Regions from separate parts of the Homo sapiens genome. Here all the other regions are linked to region 1. The links are contacts of gene promoters, found by promoter capture Hi-C in blood cells and fetal thymus (Javierre and others, 2016). All regions are on one chromosome and are shown on one strand. The core of a region is centred on a gene start or on the middle of the fragment in contact, and the rest is flanking DNA. Distances in the headings are between cores, read along the strand shown. Region 1 holds the start of CD200 (CD200 molecule). Region 2 overlaps SLC35A5 (solute carrier family 35 member A5). Region 3 overlaps C3orf52 (chromosome 3 open reading frame 52). Region 4 overlaps ATG3 (autophagy related 3). Region 5 overlaps C3orf52 (chromosome 3 open reading frame 52).

The links. The method cuts DNA at HindIII sites, captures the fragments that hold promoters and counts their contacts. A CHiCAGO score of 5 or more calls a contact.
Region 2: a contact is called between a fragment that was not itself captured here and the fragment with the promoter of CD200 in region 1, in 2 of 17 cell types (naive B cells and total B cells). The highest score is 6.8, in naive B cells.
Region 3: a fragment that was not itself captured here is called in contact with the fragment with the promoter of CD200 in region 1 in 3 of 17 cell types (naive B cells, M2 macrophages and naive CD8 T cells); the score reaches 6.0 in naive B cells.
Region 4: a contact is called between a fragment that was not itself captured here and the fragment with the promoter of CD200 in region 1, in 7 of 17 cell types (naive B cells, total B cells, activated CD4 T cells and 4 more). The highest score is 8.0, in naive B cells.
Region 5: a contact is called between a fragment that was not itself captured here and the fragment with the promoter of CD200 in region 1, in 16 of 17 cell types (total B cells, naive B cells, naive CD4 T cells and 13 more). The highest score is 22.4, in total B cells.

Annotation. Positions count from the first base shown.
Region 1 is chr3:112,331,051-112,334,928 of GRCh38, reverse strand. It overlaps CD200 (CD200 molecule), which reads right to left and starts at 1,773. Exons shown (of 6, transcript NM_005944.7): 1 at 1,705-1,773. The coding sequence starts at 1,716. LOC105374042 (a long non-coding RNA gene) reads right to left here. Exons shown (of 5, transcript NR_147411.1): 5 at 2,175-2,743. RefSeq lists enhancers at 192-1,148, 1,149-2,106. The HindIII fragment of the contact is 4,002 bases long and covers 1-2,848 here.
Region 2 is chr3:112,577,228-112,581,105 of GRCh38, reverse strand. It overlaps SLC35A5 (solute carrier family 35 member A5), which reads right to left. Exons shown (of 7, transcript NM_017945.5): 6 at 1-560. Among named protein-coding and RNA genes, the nearest start is that of SLC35A5, 17 kb to the right of the region's middle. The HindIII fragment of the contact is 512 bases long and covers 1,988-2,499 here.
Region 3 is chr3:112,090,504-112,094,381 of GRCh38, reverse strand. It overlaps C3orf52 (chromosome 3 open reading frame 52), which reads right to left. Exons shown (of 6, transcript NM_024616.3): 2 at 893-1,022. Among named protein-coding and RNA genes, the nearest start is that of C3orf52, 6.1 kb to the right of the region's middle. The HindIII fragment of the contact is 7,540 bases long and covers 1-3,878 here.
Region 4 is chr3:112,554,232-112,558,109 of GRCh38, reverse strand. The region is part of intron 2 of ATG3 (autophagy related 3); the gene reads left to right. Among named protein-coding and RNA genes, the nearest start is that of ATG3, 5.8 kb to the left of the region's middle. The HindIII fragment of the contact is 3,918 bases long and covers 277-3,878 here.
Region 5 is chr3:112,107,371-112,111,248 of GRCh38, reverse strand. It overlaps C3orf52 (chromosome 3 open reading frame 52), which reads right to left. Exons shown (of 6, transcript NM_024616.3): 4 at 1,636-1,706. Among named protein-coding and RNA genes, the nearest start is that of MIR567, 3.5 kb to the left of the region's middle. The HindIII fragment of the contact is 3,181 bases long and covers 560-3,740 here.

The sequences.
Region 1 (3,878 bases), core at 524-3,023:
CTCATAGAGAAAATCTGTGTTTTAGGACAAGAGAGAAAGCAGATACATACCAAACCATATATTGTGGACTGGGAGCCAGCAATGTTAAGAAACAAAACACAGTGATTGAGGCAAAGGAAATCAGAAGGAAAGCCTTACTCTTAAATAGATACGTATTTTTATTTTACAGGTTTTTTTTTTCCTCGAGTCTGTGCAGAATAACTGAAAATACGACCAATCTGAAAACAACAGTATTTATATGTTTACAGGGAGGTGACCGGGGCTAAAACAAATACTAGATTTGTGAGCAAAAGAAATCATTTTACCTCTCTGAGACTCCGGAAAAGTAATAGTACCAATCTAATGGTTAAAAAGACTAAATGAAGTAGTATATAAAGCTCCTAGAATACTGCCAGTAGAAATAAGCACTAAATAAATGTTGCTCTTATCTCACATAGTTATTATGAGAATTAGGCAATTAAAGCACTTAGTATAGAGCCTAGGTTATAGTAAATGCCAATACGTGTTAGGTAGCTAAAAAAATTAATCGATCAAATCATATAGGGGGAACTACAGTCCTGAAAACAAAGAAGCCCACTTATAACCCTTGCCATGCAGTCCAGGGTTCACAAAAACCTGGGTCTTACCAGACAGCTGCCCACCTGGTAGCTATATTGCCCCTATTCATGCCTCTTCCTCAGCAAGTTTCTATGTCCAAATCCACATTACCCCACATGTAGTCACAAGGACTTGGAAATATCAGCCTTTCCGCCTGTTTATGTGTAAAACGAGGTAATAATTCATTTTTAGAAGGATAGTTACAAAGAAGATTAACAGCATCTAGCTTGCAGTAGACCGTAGCTCACAGACCACCATTCTCCTTTGTTAAGAAAGACAGTGAAATCATTGGCTATGTGGTCTTGCCAACAAACCATACATGAAAAAATTATCTTGAGGCATTCACTGTATTTGGATTCTTATACCAATACCATTGTATTTGGATTTCATATACCAATGGGATATATGAAAACCTTCTCCGTTTTTTGTCTTGTAAGCTGGTTCCGAATAAACAAAATGTCTGTTTCTCTAGATACCCGGGGTTAACCCTTCAAAGCATTATGATCACAGAGCATTTCAGCTCTCTCAAGTGTAGCTTCAGCTTTAACTGATCCTTCATGGCTTCCCCCAGGCAAGGGCTAGGAGGGAGAAAGGGGCTGCATAACAAAGAGGAGACGCAGGAGCTCTCCCGGAGAAAGCGAGCCTGGAAATCTGTATCTCCGCCGCAGCTTTTGGTGCCAATATGGAACCAATACAGCATTTCTCTTTCCCTTTTGGGGGCAGTTTAAAATAGGCTGTGCCTCCCCAGTTTTGGGAGCTGGAGCCAGTGAGCCGAGCCGAGCCTGCCCGGAGGATGCGCCAGCTTCGTCAGCGCGGATCAAGAGCCCCCGGAGCCCCGGCCTGGTGCATCTTTTTTTCAGGCAATTGGAATGGAGAATCTGGACGCCAGCAGCTGCCTGTAAACCACCCTTTGGAAGGCAAAATCCGTTTCTCAGCAAGAGAAAGCGCTTAGAGAAAAGCGCTGCCATCAACACCGCTGATCTAGTCCCCGGACCAGATTGTGGCAAGAGCCGAAGCTCCGCGCCTTCCACTCGCCGCCCGCCCCAGGGCCACCGGCTCAACATCGCCTGCCCTGCGCCCTCCTTCCCAAGCCCCGGCCCCGCTCACCAGCCTCTCCATCCTTGCTCCTGGAGGCGCGCGCGAGGTGGCTGACTGCGGATGTGCGCCTGGAGCTCTGCTAGGCAGGCGGGAGGAGCGTCACCTGTGCCCCTGCCGCACCTCCCGCCTCTTCCTCCTCGCTAGCCCCCTTCTCCCACTCCGTTTTCCCCACGCCCTCACAGGAGCGGAGGCTGTCTGTGTGGGGGGAATTAAATGATGTTTATATTCAGCTTTGTCTATTTTCAGACATTTTTCCCTTTTCAAAGGTGACCGCTGGGGAAACTGACAAAGTGTTTGGAAAAAAAAAATCATTTTTTTTTTTCCATTTTCCTGCTACCTGGACTGAGAAAGGAAATGAGGTGGGAGGTTGTGGAGATCAGTTGTTGACCTGTTAGCTCTTGATGTAGTGGCAAAGGATTCAAGCTGAATTTAACCAATGGACTTTTTTTTTTTTTTAAAGAAAAAACTTACATTTATTATTTTTAAATCCAGATTCAAATTATATATTTAAGCAATTCCGTAATGATTTCACCTTTCATGATGTGATCAATTCTTTGGTGAAGAGTTTCCTTCCACTTGCATTAATGATGAGGATTCTTTTTTCCCTTCTCCTTCTCCTTCTTCTCCTTCTTCTTCTTCTTGAGACGGAGTCTCGCTCTGTGGTCCAGGCTGGAGTGCAGTGGCGCTATCTTGGCTCACTACAAGCTCCGCCTCCCGGGTTCCCGCCATTCTCCTGCCTCAGCCTCCCGAGTAGCTGGGACTACAGACGCCCGCCACCATGCCCGGCTAATTTTTTGTATTTTTAGTAGAGACGGGGTTTCACCATGTTAGCCAGGATGGTCTCGGTCTCTTGACCTCGTGATCCGCCCGCCTCGGCCTCCCAAAATGCTGGGATTACAGGCGTGAGCCACTGCGCCCGGCCCTCCTCCTCCTCTTCCTCCTTCTCCGTCTCCTTCTCCTTCTCCTTCTCCTCCTTCTCCTTCTCCTCCTCCCCCTCCCCCTCCTCCTCCTCCTTCGTCTTCTTCTTCTTGTTCCAGAGTTCTTGGCTCTTAAAAAAAAAAAAAAAAGGACAAAGAAATCATCAAGTGTTCACCTCCTGAAGGCTTTTGTGTTTTACTACTACCACCCTCTCATAAGGAGCTGGGACAAAGCTTTGGGGTTTTGTTTTTGCTTCTTTTTACAGACAAAGTCTCGCTCTGTTGTCCAAGCTGGAATGCAGTGGTGCGATCATAACTCACTCCTGGGCTCAAGGGATCCTCTCACCTCAGCCTCTAGAGTAGCTAGAATGATAGTTGTGCAGCCACTATGTCCAGCTTTTTTTTTTTTTCCAGACACGGGGTCTTGTGTTGCCCAGGCTGGCCTGAAATTCCTAGCCTCAAATGCTCCTTCTACCTTTGCCTCCCAAAGCAGTGGGATTACAGGCATGAACCACTGCACCTGACCTATTCTCCCACTTCTTTTTTTGGGGGGGGGGCGGTGGGAGACGGGGGCGGAGTCTCGCTCTGTCGTCCAGGCTGGAGTGCAGTGGCGCGATCTCGGCTCACTGCAAGCTCTGCCTCCTGGGTTCACGCCATTCTCCTGCCTCAGCCTCCGAAGTAGCTGGGACTACAGGCGCCCGCCACCACGCCCGGCTAATTTTTTTTGTATTTTTAGTAGAGACGGGGTTTCACCGTTTAGCCAGGATGGTCTCGATCTCCTGACTTCATGATTCGCCCGTCTCAGCCTCCCAAAGTTGTGGGAATTACAGGCGTGAGCCACCGCGCCCGGCCCCTATTCTCCTACTTCTAACACCATAGACTAGGCTCACCTGATTTTGAATTTTATATGAATGGCATCGTAGCATATGTCTTCACTTGTTTCTGGGTTTTTTACTCAACAGTAGATTTTAAAAATCCATCCATGTTATTGCCTGTAGTGTGGCTTATTCATTCTCACTGATGTATAGTATCCTATTCTGTAAATACTGTCTATTACAATTTATTTATCTATTCTTCTATTAATTAACATTTCTTTGTTTTTCAAATTGGAAGCATTTTTCATAGTGGTGCTATAAACATTCTTATACCTGTCTTTTCACAAGCATATGTACATCATTCTATTACATTTATTTTTCCCATATATTTTCCTATCACTTTATTTTTAACCTTCCTCTATTAGAGAAATATTAACTGCACACTTGGAAA
Region 2 (3,878 bases), core at 994-3,493, 250 kb before region 1:
TGTTATCCAGGAACTTCAGAATGAAAGCCACTGAAAGGCCCTGGAATGCAGTTACAAAAATAAGGGCTACTGAAAATGCACTGTGGCCATAAAAAAATCCACAGTTCTTAATCTGATCACGGTTACTCCTCTGAAGGCCCAGAGTCAGCCCATTAAACAGAATGCCAAAGAAATAGAGTTTGCTGTTCTGTATGAAGATGCTTTCAGTGAGCTGGTTCCCTTCCTTCAGTATCTTTTCATTATAGATATTAGCCATTGAAGAAATAAAACACTGGACTATAATAAGAACATGGCCCATGCCAAGACGGATGTGACTGAAAACTCTGGCTGTGGTGTTCCATTTAGCTTCAGGAAAAGTCCATTCCTTTGCTGTACAATTGTCTTTTCTGGGACACTCACTTCTGAAAAGAAGGCAGGAATTGGAAGGGCTGAAAAAGGCATCGTGATGAAATCCACGTCCTGCCAAGTTGTGCTGTAAAGTTTTAGTCCCGGCAGTCAAGGCCACAATAGACAAAAATAAAGTCAGGAGGGAAGCCCACTGGATCCAGTTTAGACGCCTCCTGTTCAAAGATGAAAAAAAAGATTTTACTACTGTTTTCCCCCCATATCAATAGTTTCTACTGAAAACTCAGACACTTGAGTATTTGGTTGAATAAACTGGACCCAGTTTTTGCTAGCATTTCCTACCACTCAAGTTCAGAGAAAAACTGTTGGTGCCTGTCTCTCAAATTTAATGTTTTAATTCATTTTTATAACACCTATCCCCTAAGGCTGCTCAAGTCATTTCCCTTCTGTGTAGGTTTCCTTTTAACCTACAAGTTTAACATGGCCTCCTTTCTACCTCTAGAGGTATCCTGGACCTCTGGCACAGTAACTTTTATTGTACTATAAAGTTACAGCAGAGATTCTCAACCTGGTTTCCCAGAACCAGAAAGAATGTAGATGAGCTTCAGAAATGTTGTGTACAGATGAATTTCCCCCTATGCAGGAGATCCTGCAAAGCTTTGTCAAATCTTTAAAGGTGTCCATAACCCAAAAAAGATTTAAAGGAGAAGGTTAGCTCTAGATCCATGTCCTAATCGTAGAGCATTAAACAGCAAACTGCTGGCTGACAAGCCAAAGAAAAATGTTATTTTGGGCAGTATTTCAGTTTACAAAGTCCTAACAATCCTTTGTTTATTTTCCTTAGCAACAAACTTGTGAGAAATAAAGGACATGTACTATTATTATTCCATTTTGCTGATTCATTCTATTCAACAGATGTTTAATAAGCAGCTACTACGTGCCAGGCAACCTGGGGCGATAAAGATGACTTATCTCCATGTTCAAGGAATTTATGCTTTAACAGTGAGAAAACAATGAAACTAAATGATTTCAGTATGTGTGAAAAGTGATTAATGGGACAAGTGGAGTAAACTGAGGAACACTACAATCTGTAAATAGTCAGGTATTGCTTCAAAGAGGAAATGACACTTGAGCTAGAAGATGAAAAATTAATTGAAGTTTATCATGTGAAAAAGGAGGTGGTGATATATCCAGGCAGAGGGAAGAGTCTCTATGCAAAGGCAACAAGAATGTACAATGTTGACAAAGAGGAATATCTCACTTTCATTGGCGTTGTCAGGAGGCCTCTTGGGGGAACAAAATCTTGATGTTTGAAGATCAGTTAGTTAGGCAAAGAAGGGGAACACCGAGAAAAAAAGAGGAACATAAAAAATGCAGAAGTGTAAAGCAATAGGTGGGAACCAGAAGTGAGAATTTTTATATCATTGGAGCATTTATTGAGCACCTACCATACACTTAGGCATTTCCGCTCTAAGGGAGGAAACAGTTAACCTAACAGATTTCCCTAAGGTCATGTACTTAAACACTAAAGAAGGGATCGGATCCATGGTTTTGTATGTCTTCCTTCTGCATCATCACACCTCCTAAGTATAATTCTAAGTTTCCAGGATGCACATATAGGAAGTTGTGTGCATATAAAGCTTCATGCTCTGAAACTGCTAAATGCACAGACTAGCCTAGATAGCAGCATACCTGTGCACACTATTATATGCTTTCTCATATGTATGTAATTTTCAAATAGCCTGATCTAGAACTTACTGATGGCGTTAGCGCAGCCTTATGCCATCAGGTGAGAAACTGTGAACTAACCACTTAAATTTCTGAAGGTGCAGCTGATACACATTAAGTAGCAGAAAACAAATAGAATGACCACAGAGATAAAAAATGGGTGTCCATTTTACAAAAAAAATTCCATAATTAATTATTGCAAATCGCATATAAGTGAGGCAATGATATAATCTATAGTTCCTTTAAAAGTTTTCTAGAGCTATACATTTTTCACTAATATTAAGAAAAAAGAAAGAAATCCTTAAGCTAAACAACACCTTCTGTAAACAATTACTCATTCAAGGTAATGCTCTAAGGAACGTAAAATTTATTAAGGATTAAGCTAAAAATTAAAAATGGTAGATTTTTAGGAAAGAAAATAAAGCTTAATAAATTACCCTGTAAAGTCAGCTGACAATCTGAAATGACAACTGAGTCTGCTAGGCCCAATTTGTTCTTCAGTTTAACTGATACAAAACAGTGGAAGCTCACTTCACTCATCTCTCCACTGCCTCGGTAAAACATAGTAATGGATGCTCAGAGCCGAATGCCTGTGGCTAGAAGGCTACTCTTCCTGAGGGCCTCTCCTCCCAAGTGAATTGTTTGCCCACAGAATCTCTGTTCCTAAACATGTTTTTGCCAGGTGACCTCACTGTTGTCACTACATAAAGATTACATAAATGATAAACTATGAGTAAAAGACAAGAAGCTGTTTTTATGAAAACTAAGTTGAACACTTTGGGAAGACTAAGTGAAGGTAAATCATTCAGAAGATAAAAAGCTGTTTTCTAATAACATATAGGTGAGCTAAGGAACTTCAATCAGTAACATACTCAAAGGGGGGGCTTTAGTTCAACATTAGAAGAATGATGAATACATGTATATTTACATATTCTAAGTTAAAATAAATTGTTTAGATATTTTCTATATATACTTATGTATATGATTCATCACTATAAGTTTTCCTAGCAACTAACCAATAGGTTCAAATTGTGTCAGATAAGAGCACTTCTATATTTGGTGGTAGTAAACTAGTGCAGGGTATGAAGACAATTAAATGGAAAGACTCACATAATTGTTTTCTCAAGAAACTGTACAAAACACATTTCTTAGTAGCACAAAGAGAGTGACAAGGGGCAGATTTATAATGAGAAGTCACAGAGAAAATTTATCAACTGAATGAATGATTCTGGAGAAATGCTTGTACTACTACTGAGTGGCACTTCTCTTTGTTCTTCTGCTGTTTCAGACAGTAACTAAACTTTACCCTTACTTCCTAGACATCCACCATGTTTCAAAATGTATTTTTAAATAATTTTTTTCCATACCTTCTCTTTGAGGAAATCAGAGAAACTTATATACATTTTTTAGGTAAAAATAAGTGCTGGTCTTGGTTATCCTTTGCCTCCAATCTCAATGTTTAGGTTGGTATTATTTCCCAAAGCTAAAGCAAACAAAATTGTGCAACTTTGCTTAGGTTACAAGCAAACCAGGGAAGCAAGCTACAAGGCATAATGCCTGCTACCAGTTTCTACCATGAACCAGTGGCTTATACTTCAAAGAACAAATCTATACATTCACATAAAGTTTGAATCCTTGGAAAATAACATGCTAATAATCTAATATTGTGGCTTATACTTCAAAGAACAAATCTATACATTCACATAAAGTTTGAATCCTTGGAAAATAACATGCTAATAATCTAATATTGTCTTTTATGAGAATGCCTTTAGGTATTTTATTCTTTTTAGAAAAGACAATAGGAC
Region 3 (3,878 bases), core at 755-3,254, 240 kb after region 1:
ATAGTTAGCATTCTATACATTTTTTGTTTTATACACACATACAACACTAATAAAATAAACAGTCATTTCTAAAACAAGTTAAAATTGGGCCAAGCATGGTGGCTCATGCCTCTAATCCCAGCAATTTGGGAGGCCAAGGCAGGCAGATCACTTGAGGTCAGGAGTTCAAGACCAACCCGGACAACATGGCAAAACCCCGTCTCTACTAAAAATACAAAAATTAGCTGGGCGTGGTGGCACATGCCTATAATTCCAGCTATTTCGGAGGCTGAGGCATGAGAATTCCTTGAACTTGGGAGGCAGAGGTTGCAGCGAGCCAAAGTCGTGCCACTGCACTCTAGCCTGGGTGACAGAGTAAGACTTTCTCTCAAAAAAAAAAATAAATAAATACAATAAGTTAAAATAATGACAGCTTATGGACACATGGTTCTTCAAAGTTTTTTAAAACTCTTTCAAATACATTATTTATTATTTTATCATCATAGTAATATATCAGACACACCAGATGAAGTATAATTATTTTTAGCAAACAAATGAAAAGAAAAAGAATTCAAATCAACAGGTATCAGGATATAAATAAAATATAAATCAGTGTTTAAGTAAGTTGAAACATTAAGAAACCTCTTCAAGATCCAATGAGCAGAGTTTAAAGTAAAACACTGGTTTCTATATTTCTTCTGGAGCTTATAAAACAACAAAATACAACAACAACAGAAAACAAAAACACAAGAATCAGGCATATCTCCCACCCATACAATATATTCCAAGCCGGTCTTAAATTCACATTATAAATAATGAAATGGCTATGAGTACATCTTCCATTTCAGTGTAAGTCACAAGCCTTAAGTAAGTTCTTAAAATGTGTTATTTATTCACATCTAAATCCTCTTACCTGCAGCAAGACATAAGCCTATGATGATCACTGTAATGACACCTAGGAAAATGGAGGTGATGATCATCCACAGTTTGCATCTTCCAACCACATTCTTATTACAGGAGCTCCAGGGGCTTTCCTTGTTAGCCTAGAAAGGCAGAGGGAGATTGTGAGGCAGTCATTGTGTTGCAACAGACAGTTCTGAATACCTAGGATGTGCCAGAGACACAGAAATGAAGGCAGCAAGACCCTGACCTTAGGGCAACACTCTACTGAATCAAGTTTTCAAAAAGAGAGATCAGAGGCAGAACAGAACCTCATCAAGAAGTTAGCAAGAAAATCCTCTGGGGGCTCTGAAGTGGGGAGGATAGGCAGGATTTTGAAAGATGGATTTTTGAAGGCATTCCAAACCCAGGAAAGAGCATCCAAAGTGTGGATTCGTAATGGAACCGGCCAGCAGACTAGCCTGCCGACTGGAATGTGGGTTTCAGAGGCAAATAATGAAAGTTAAGATTAGAGAGAGTGAAAGGCTGGGAGCACACTCAGAGGGTGTTGATAGCTGTCCCAGAATAGATTGGACTTAATTGGGTGTGCACTGGAAACTTGAAGGTTTTGAAACACCAGAGCCGAGTTGAAAATTAAGGGAAAATCATGTGTGGTTTAGAGTGGAAACACCAAGAAAAAGCTACAAGGCTACTGCTGTGGCCTAGGTTCTATGTAAAAAAGGGTTGGGAAGGGAAATGAAAGGACAGCTGCAAGAGACAACAGGAAATAAGCTGCAAAGCTGGAGTGAGAAGGCTGGAGTGAGGCAGAGGAGGGGTCAATGAAAACAAGTACAACTGCTATGGTTTATTGAGCACCAGCGTCATTTCACTTAACCCTAACAGCCCTTCAGGGTGTGCACTAGTCCATTTCAAAGACGCAATTCAGAGAGATGAGCCAGAACCAATCCCTGCTGTGTGTCTCCACAAAGCTCTCCAACTTTCCCTTTTGTCCACATCACTGTGCAGAGCTCCGGTTTATGAGGGTGTCACAGAGGGGCCCCCACCTTACCCTATATGGTCCCATGACTCTTCTCCTACTTCCCACTCCACCATTAGATAATTCTTTCATGGAGACCATGGGAAACAACAGAATACAATGGGGAAAAAATGTGTCTGTATCTAACACACTTGGATTCCAAACCAAGATATACCACTTAAAGGCAAGGTGGCTTTAAGCAAGCTACTGAAACTCATAGGCCCCAAAGTCCTCAGCTTTAAAATATATAAATAGTAAATTAGCTCACAGGACTGTTGCAAAAACTAGAGATAATGGACACAAAGCATCTGCTAAACAATTATTGGGAGTTCGGCCAAAGGGTGCAACTGCGCCTCAGTCATTCCTCAGCGTTCACCATCCCACAAAGCAGCAGCCGGCACTCGAGGAGACTCGCTCCTGACCGACACCTGGCCACCTGGCCTGCTTTCTCTCCCATTCTTTTTTTTTTTTTTCTTTTTTTCTTGAGATGGAGTCTCGCTCTGTCGCCCAGGCTGGAGTGCAGCAGCACGATCTCCGCTCACTGCAAGCTCCGCCTCCCGGGTTCACGCCATTCTCCTGCCTCAGCCTCCCGAGTAGCTGGGACTACAGGCGCCCGCCACCACGCCCGGCTAATTTTTTGTATATTTAGTAGAGACGGGGTTTCACTGTGTTAGCCAGGATGGTCTCGATCTCCTGACCTCGTGATCCTCCCGCCTCAACCTCCCAAAGTGCTGGGATTACAGGCATGAGCCACCGCGACTGGCCTTCTCTGCCATTCTTATTTTGGTGCTGGCCATCAGAAAACGAATCGGTCAGTCCACACTTGGACTGTATTTCCAACCTTCTCAATTAGAGGTGCCCAAGCCTGGCTGCACATCAGAATCACTGGGTAAGGATTTTAACTGACACATACCTAGGCCCCACCTGCACCTAGTGGACCAGATTGTAAGGGAGGTGGGAGGAGGCCATGGCAGACCTCTGGTCTGAGGCCTCCCACCTTTCGGGAGTTAGGTCAAATCTCCCCTTTGGTGGAAGCCTCCCTCCCCACCTGCCCTTAGTGAGATCTTCCAATACCTGAGCTGTCCACATAGCCCATCTGCTGTTGCCACTGACTGCCCTGTCCGGTTTCAGGTTCAAAAACAAACAGAGCCTGGCCTTATCTTCCTGCGTAAACTGAAACCACATAGAGGAGGGGTGCTCTTAAACTGCCCTGTTCTTATATTCCACACCTGTGCCTTCTACAAGTAATATACATTTAACGATTGTGGGCTGTTTAGTTGTAGAGGCCTCCCAGAAATTTTAAGAATGGACTTTGAGAAAATCTAGATGAGGGGACAAATGTTGGATTTCCCAAGTGCACTTTACACTGACTCTGAGGCCTAGCCTGTCAGAGGTGCGAGGGGAGCACTTAAAGGCCCTAGGGATATCTTGACAGAGGAAATCCCTCTTGAGTTAAGTGCATTTCTGGAATCCAGGGATAGGGTCACCTCTCATCCCCACTCAAAACCTGCAGAACTGCTTCAAAGCCAGGGGAAGCCACACGGGAAAAAGACATCCCAGTACAAAGAATCTTCAGTTTCTCAGGGGACAGAAACATCTCCCCATTTACAGAGCTCCTGAGGCCAAAGCCCTGGTGCTATTTTCAGCCCTCATAAAAGGCAGCTGGGACCCATAAAGATTAGCACAAAAGGAAATATCTAGTTTCAAATGAGCCATAGAATGAGTGTCAATGCACCTCCTTGGCCTCTCATGCCTTTATTTATGCTGTCCCTTAGAGATCACAAATTAGGACTCTGGTGTGTTGAAAAAAACCACTAATTACTCTATGACTTCCTGGAGGAACTCAGCTTAAAATTTTACAGCCGTCATCTATAGGAAATGCCTCTTCCTGTAGCCTAGTGCCCTCACTGACCTGTCCTCAGCTCTAAGAGGAAGACCGCTGAGCGCTATCCCTTACATGATTAATATTCACAGACTTTATGTC
Region 4 (3,878 bases), core at 986-3,485, 220 kb before region 1:
TTATCCTTGACTTGTATTGGTGTTATATTGAGCTGTGCAGTAAGCTCTGTAATGTCTGTGGTGTCTTGGTTCTGTTTACATCAAATGTGAGTTTTCATGCTTTTCATTGGAAAACTTTGCTTACTACTTAGATATTGTTTTCTCTTAAGAGTTCTATTTCGTTGTCGGTGGAGAAGTAAATACTGGGCTAAAAACCTTTTCAGGCTCCAATTTTATGAATAATTATGGTTTTATCAGACTTAGGTTGTTCTTAATAAGAGACAATTTATTTAAGCTTGAATTTTTTTTTTTCTGCCAATGAAAACACCACTTTTTGGCAATAGAACTTTATTCACTGTTTTGAAACAAACGTTTTAAGCCTTATTTTATGATAAGGCTGCTGCTGTTAAGGTCCAAGGTGTGGAGCTAGAGAATTAACTGATCTTTCAATTTTCAGTTGTGATGGAATTTGTCTAGTTCCAAATCTTTGTGGTTTTTTTAATTTTTTTTTCTTGAGACGGAGTCTCCCTCTGTCACCAGGCTGGAGCACAGTGGCGCGATCTTGGCTCACTGCAGCCTCTGCCTCCTGGGTTCAAGCAATTCTCCTGCCTCAGCCTCCCAAGTAGCTGGGAATACAGGTGAGCGCCACCACGCCCAGCTAAGTTTTGTACTTTTAGTAGAGATGGGGTTTCACCATGTTGGCCAGAATGGTCTCGACCTCTTGACCTCGTGATCCGCCTGCCTCGGGATTACAGGCTTGAGCCACTGCGCCCGGCTCCTTGTGAGTTTTAAGAATGGTTTCTGTGCTGGGCGTGGTGGCTCACGCCTGTAATCCCAACACTTTAGGAGGCAGAGGCAGGCGGAATACAGGCTAACAGGGCGAAACCCCGTCTCTACTAAAAATATAAAAAATTAGCGGGGCGTGATGGTGGGCGCCTGTAGTCCAGCCTGGGCGACAGAACGAGACTCCGTCTGAAAAAAAAAAATGGTTTGCATAACTAATCTTTTCTCTAAAATTGTCTTTTGTTTTTGGTGAAGACACATGGTAGTATGGAAATAACCTAGGAGACCTGCCTTCTAGACCTATTTCTGTAATTTCTTTTTTTTTTTTAATTGATCATTCTTGGGTGTTTCTCGCAGAGGGGGATTTGGCAGGGTCACAGGACAATAGTGGAGGGAAGGTCAGCAGATAAGTGAACAAAGGTCTCTGGTTTTCCTAGGCAGAGGACCCTGTGGCCTTCCGCAGTGTTTGTGTCCCTGGGTACTTGAGGTTAGGGAGTGGTGATGACTCTTAACGAGCATGCTGCCTTCAAGCATCTGTTTAACAAAGCACATCTTGCACCACCCTTAATCCATTCAACCCTGAGTGGACACAGCACATGTTTCAGAGAGCACAGGGTTGGGGGTAAGGTCACAGATCAACAGGATCCCAAGGCAGAAGAATTTTTCTTAGTACAGAACAAAATGAAAAGTCTACAATGTCTACCTCTTTCTACACAGACATGGCAACCATCCGATTTCTCAATCTTTTCCCCACCTTTCCCCCCTTTCTATTCCACAAAACCGCCATTGTCATCATGGCCCGTTCTCAATGAGCTGTTGAGTACACCTCCCAGACGGGGTGGTGGCCGGGCAGAGGGGCTCCTCACTTCCCAGTAGGGGCGGCCGGGCAGAGGTGCCCCTCACCTCCCGGACGGGGCGGCTGGCCGGGCGGGGGGCTGACCCCCCCACCTCCCTCCCGGATGGGGCGGCTGGCCGGGCAGAGGGGCTCCTCTCTTCCCAGTAGGGGCGGCCGGGCAGAGGGGCTCCTCACTTCCCAGTAGGGGCGGCCAGGCAGAGGCGCCCCTCACCTCCCGGACGGGACGGTAATTTCTCCTAATGAGGAAATCAGTTAAACTATCCCTGCCGAGGCTTCATGTTTCCTCATCTATAAAATAACGGTTGTGGGCTAGACATTCTGTAAAGATCCTATTCTGCCTTAGGTTTTATTACCTCAAATGCCAAATAAAACTAAGTTTTGATTTTAAGGATATCATTAACATTCTTGCCAAACAGAGGTGTAATTTGAACATGGCTCTTTATCTGAAATCAAGAGCGGAGATGAAAGTATGCTGTTCTTATTGCACTCTTTGGTTTTATTTCCTCTGTGAAGATGACTAATTGTTGAATATATAGTTGCAGTTAGAGATGCAAAGTCTGTGGTCATTGGATAGAATTAAGCAGTTTCAAAACAGGAATTCATCCTAGAATAAATAACTGTTACACTTAATTACAACATCAATCAATTTATGAATTTTCCTCTCTAAAAAAATCCAAGGCCAAATTAGCCCAGCTGGCTGTCTATTACATAATGCAGGGTTGGGATAGAGCACAATTACAGGATTGAGTTAGAGTAGAATGAGCCTGGAGGAGGAAATGGGAAGGCATCATTTGCTTTGTGTAAATATTATATACTGAGTTGATTTGTTCATTTGTTTCATCTTGCTGTTTCTGAGTTTCTGCCAGACATCAGCTATCTTTTTGTTTTCATTCAGAGGTGTGGCAGTATTGTGCTTAAAAAGAGGGGCAGCTAGTATCTGATACTGTATTGTCAAAAAACAAAGAAAAAACTAATGTTGGATGTATGTATGACTTGTTTAAGTAGAATACTATTAATTGAGGTTAGCTTGAGGAATGGAATTGCTCACCAAGGTGTAAATATTGATTCTTGTTGGAGTTGGTCAGTATTATATACTGATAATAAAGATAATAAGAGAACATTTTTAGTCTCTAAGAGAAAGCTATTGCAAGCAATATTGATCATTTAGAAATTTGAATCTTGCATCATTTGAACACGTGAAGCAAGTTATGATGGCCATTGCTAATGAGGGCAGATGTACACATGTATTATCAGTGTGAGTCTGTGTTTTTTTTGTTTTGTTTTTTGTTTTTCGTTTTTCTTGCCTCCTAGTGTTCTTGTTTTTAAATAGAAGATACTATAGGGACTATGAGATAAAATGTTAGTCTTGTTACCTCAAGGCAATACAATGAAAGAATTTTTTATTTTTAATTATTTTGCTTTCATTTAGTTAAATTATTACTTTTAATGGTAATAAATTAGTTCCTGATAACCACAGAGCTAAATGTAGCATCTGGTTGCAATGAGCTCGAAGTGCTCAAAATTTGGGGAAGAGACTATTGTTTTTATTTTGGTTTTTGTCTTTACTTAGGCTGTTTAAATAATAAGGTTATTCGAAGTAAAAGAACAGAAACATAAAGTTTCTATCAGGAATCCAGTTGCTATATCTTGTTAATGTTTCATCTTAAAAGAGGTTATTCTTAGAATTCTTATTTGATAGAATTATATGCTCAAATTAAACTAGAGTATTTTATATAGGCATACTTTCTCAAAGGTATTAGAGATTAAATATTTTGTAATTTTTTGCTGTGTAGTAAACCCATGAACAATACAAGATTTTAAGCTAGAGCTGTTGCAAAATAGAAGTAATTTGGCAAGTATGTGGGTGTCACATGCGTCCATGTGTAGAGACCACCAAACAGGCTTTGTGTGAGCAACAAGGCTGTTTATTTCACCTGGGTGCAGGCGGGCTGAGTCCGAAAAGAGCAAAGGATGGTGAGATTATCATTAGTTCTTATAGATTTTGGGATAGGCAGTGGAGTTAGGAGCAATGTTTTGTGGGCAGGGGGTGGATGGCACAAAATACATTCTCAAGGATGGGGAGAATTACAAAGAACCTTCTTAAGGATGGGGGAGATTACAAAGTACCTTGATCAGTTAGGGTGGGGCAGAAACAAATCACAATGGTGGAGTGTCATCAATTAAGGCTATTTTCACTTCTTTTGTGGATCTTCAGTTGCTTCAGCACATCTAGATGTATACGTGCAGGTCACAGGGTATA
Region 5 (3,878 bases), core at 901-3,400, 220 kb after region 1:
TCACCGTAAGTACCATGTACACTGGGTCTGTTTTGTTTTGTCTTGTTTGAGTCTCTCTGTGTCACAGGCTGGAGTGCAATGGTGCGATCTCAGCTCACTGCAACCTGCGACTCCCTGGTTCACACAATTCTCCCGCTTCAGCCTCCCAAGTAGCTGGGTTTACAGGCACGCGCCACCACGTCCAGCTAATTTTTGTATTTTTAGTAGACATGGGGTTTCACCATGTTGGCCAGGATGGTCTCAATCTCCTGACCTCATGATCTGCCTACCTCAGCCTCCCAAAGTACTGGGATTACAGGTGTAAGCCACCATGCCCAGCCCATTGGGGGTCTTTAAAGAAGGAGATCAAAGGCAGCCTGCACCATATGTATCTGTAGACTTCAGGTCTGTTTGGCCCCACACCATGGTGCTACCTACCACCTGCTTTATGTGCCTCCCCTCCCAGGTCTGCTAATATTAGGGTTTGGAGAACTTATAGTTTGAAGGGGGAATCTCAATATAATACAACTTTTGATGGTCATATTCCAGAGACATCTCAGGCATAATGGATAATGAAGCTTTGATATAAATTTTAAGTCATCTCCAATAGTCCCAATGATGTAAAAGGATAATAAATGGACTCTACACACATACACCCTGATGCCTACATCTCAAGAACATTAAAGATGAGGAGGAAATTTAAAAAATAAAAAATACATATGGGTGTGTATATCCTATGTGTGTGTAGTATTTGTGGTGCCTATGGTAGATACATGAACAGAAGTAATTACACTCAACTCTTGACAGCTATTACCTCCATGGAAGGGAATGGCATTAGTTATTGGTGGTGGCAGTGGAGAAGAAAGGAGGCAGAAGGGAGACTTTTCCTGTGCATACCTCTTTATGTCTTCTTTTTTTTATTTTTATTTATTTTTATTTTTTTGACAGAGTCTCACTCTGTCACTCAGGCTGGAGTGCAGTGGCGCAATCTCGGCTCACTGCAACCTCCCCTCCCGAATTCAAGAGATTCTCCTGCCTCAGCCTCCTGAGTAGCTGGGATTAGAGGCACCCACCAACACACCTGGCTAATTTTTGTATTTTTAGTTGAGACAGGGTTTCACCACGTTGGCCAGGCTAGTCTTGAACTCCTGACCTCAAGTGATCTGCCCGCCTTGGCCTCGCAAAGTGCTGGGATTACAGGCGTGAGCTACCACGCCCGGCCCCTCTTTACATCTTTAATACTAAACAAGGAGAATGTACTCCTGTATTACTTGTGCTCCTCAAAAGCAAATGCCTATACATGTATCACTCGCATCACAGCACGACCTGAGATCTATTTCTACTTCTACCCTTAGCTTATTTGAGCATTCATTGTTAAACAGAAATGGTTTACCTGGGACTGGCTTTTCCCCTCTTCTGTGTGACCCTGGTTGAATTATACCATTAATCTGGGCTTCCTTTTTCTCATTTGTAAAATAAGGGAGTTGAGCCTGTTGGTGTAAAAGACCTTCCCAGCACTGACATTCTGTGATTCTATTACAGGTTCCCTTCATGCTCTGAGGCTCTGGGAATCCCTGCTAGGTAAATGACGAAGGGTGGGGTGGGGGGATCTCTTTCCAGAGAAAGAGAGCAAAATGTAATGTTCCACACTCTTACCTGAAGTCCACTATTTCAACTGAAGTAAAATAACGACCCAGAGAGGGCGATGTACTGTACACATCTGTGAGCTAAACAAACAGAAGCAAATTAAACCACACACATTACCGACAGATCATATTACACATCACCTGACAAAGCAAAACTGCTTCTAAGGCAGAGGAGATTCCACTCCAGCCTGGAATCAACGTTATCTGGAAGCTCTGGATCAAGAATTGAGCCCACCATAAATCAAAACTCAAGTTAATGCTACTTCAAAAGAACTCCATTTATAAGGACCAAATGACTCAGTTTCTCTCAGAAGTTGCACTGGCACCCTGTGGCCTTAGTGGTGAGAATATCAGCAGCTGGAGCCCACACAGGCCTCACAGACCATAGGAAGGAGAGAAGAGAAGACCCCAAAATGGCTGCTGGACAGCAGCAGCACAGACCACTTAGCACCTGGGACATTGCTTAGCCCAGGGCTTCTTTCTCCCTTCTCCAGAGCTTCAGTGTAAAGACAAACAGCCATGCTAAGCCATGGGTCTAGCACATCCCCTGGACAAAGAGACAAAGAGGGGAACTGCAAAAATATGGAGGCTTTATTTTATGCATGAAATATTGCAAGCATCATAAAAAATAATGACACCTGTGTTTCCACTACCTAGCTTTCATGTCTTCATATTTGCTATATTGGGTTCAGCCCTTTAATTTAAGAAACAAAATAAAGCTAAAGTGACTCCTACATACTATTCAGTTCCTCCTCTCTCTCTTTCTTAATACTAACCATCATTCTGAAGCTGGCATGCATCCTTTCCTTGCATATTTTTACAAATTACTACTTATTTATGTAATCATAACAAAATATAATTTGTGTTTTTATTCAAATAAAAGGCACCATATTCTACATAATCTTCTAAAACTTGCCTTTTTTCACTCAAAATTACATTTAAGATTTACCCATAAAGTAAATCTCAATGAAAGGCATTCACCTAACTCCTGCACAGATTCCTTTAAATGAGTATACCAGCCTATCCATTCCTCTGATGATGATCACATGCACTATTCTCAATTTTCCCCATCACAACTTATGCTGAAGCAATCATCCTTAATGTCTCCATGCATCTCTTCTTGGACATGCGGGAGTTTCCAATGGGCATATGCCAAGAAAAGGAATTGTTGGGTTTAAGGGTAGGTGCATCTCCAACTTCACAAAATTGTTCTCCCTTTCCCACCCCTCCCAGCAATGTATAAATATCCATTTCCCACATCCTTACCAGCACTTAGTGTTACCAAACTTAAATTTTTACCACTCCGAGGAGTATAAAATAGTGCTTCACATTGTTTTAATTTGTACTGCCTCGCTTACTAGTGAGGTTGAACATCTTTTCATGTTTATTAACTCTTTGGGACTTTTCATCTCTGAATTTCTCACTCATTTCCTTTCCTTCTCTTGGCTTATCTGTCTTTTTCTTATCTATCTGAAGTGGTTAGTTTTATATTCTGGATACTAGTTGTTGATATTATGTTACAAGTATCTTTTCCCAGGCATTGAGTAGTTGTGTTTCAGATATCTGAATCCTAAACTAGTAGTACTAGGAACATGTGCCATCCCCAGCTACAGCCATTATGGCTTAATGACCTATTACTTTATTCAATAACAAGCAGTCGAACATACAAAAAACAGCAGTGCCCTATGGGGAGCTTACCCTGTTTCCCCTCAACTCCAAATGGAATGTCAAGGACGCTGCACTTCCACAATACACTCCCATTTAACTCAACATGTACAACCCATATCTCAAAGAGAACAAAAGATGAGAGTGCCTGCTATTTCTGCTCTTCTAATCTTGTCACTACTGTTGTGATCTTTATAAAAACCTGGCAAAACAGGCATTAATATATCTCCCCTTTTTACTGGAAAATTAAACAGCACTCCATTCCATGAGATGAAGAAAACCTGTCCCAGGTCACTGTGCTAGTAAAAGGAGAAGCCAAAATTCAATCCTACATGTTATGAACACTAAAAACCAGCTTCTTCCCATCTGACCACACTACCCAGTGAAGAAGAAATTGATATATATACAGTGAAGGAAAGTGTCTCCTGAATATCAAGGAGGAAAGAAGCTTAAAGTGACAAAAACTTTCGGAGAAAATGACTGAGTCATTGTACAGCTCTTAAGCCCCAATGCACAGGATGTTGCCGATAGGCTGACAGTCATTTAGAAAACTCGGGAACTAGGAAAGCAGCTTTCACGGGGATGCTG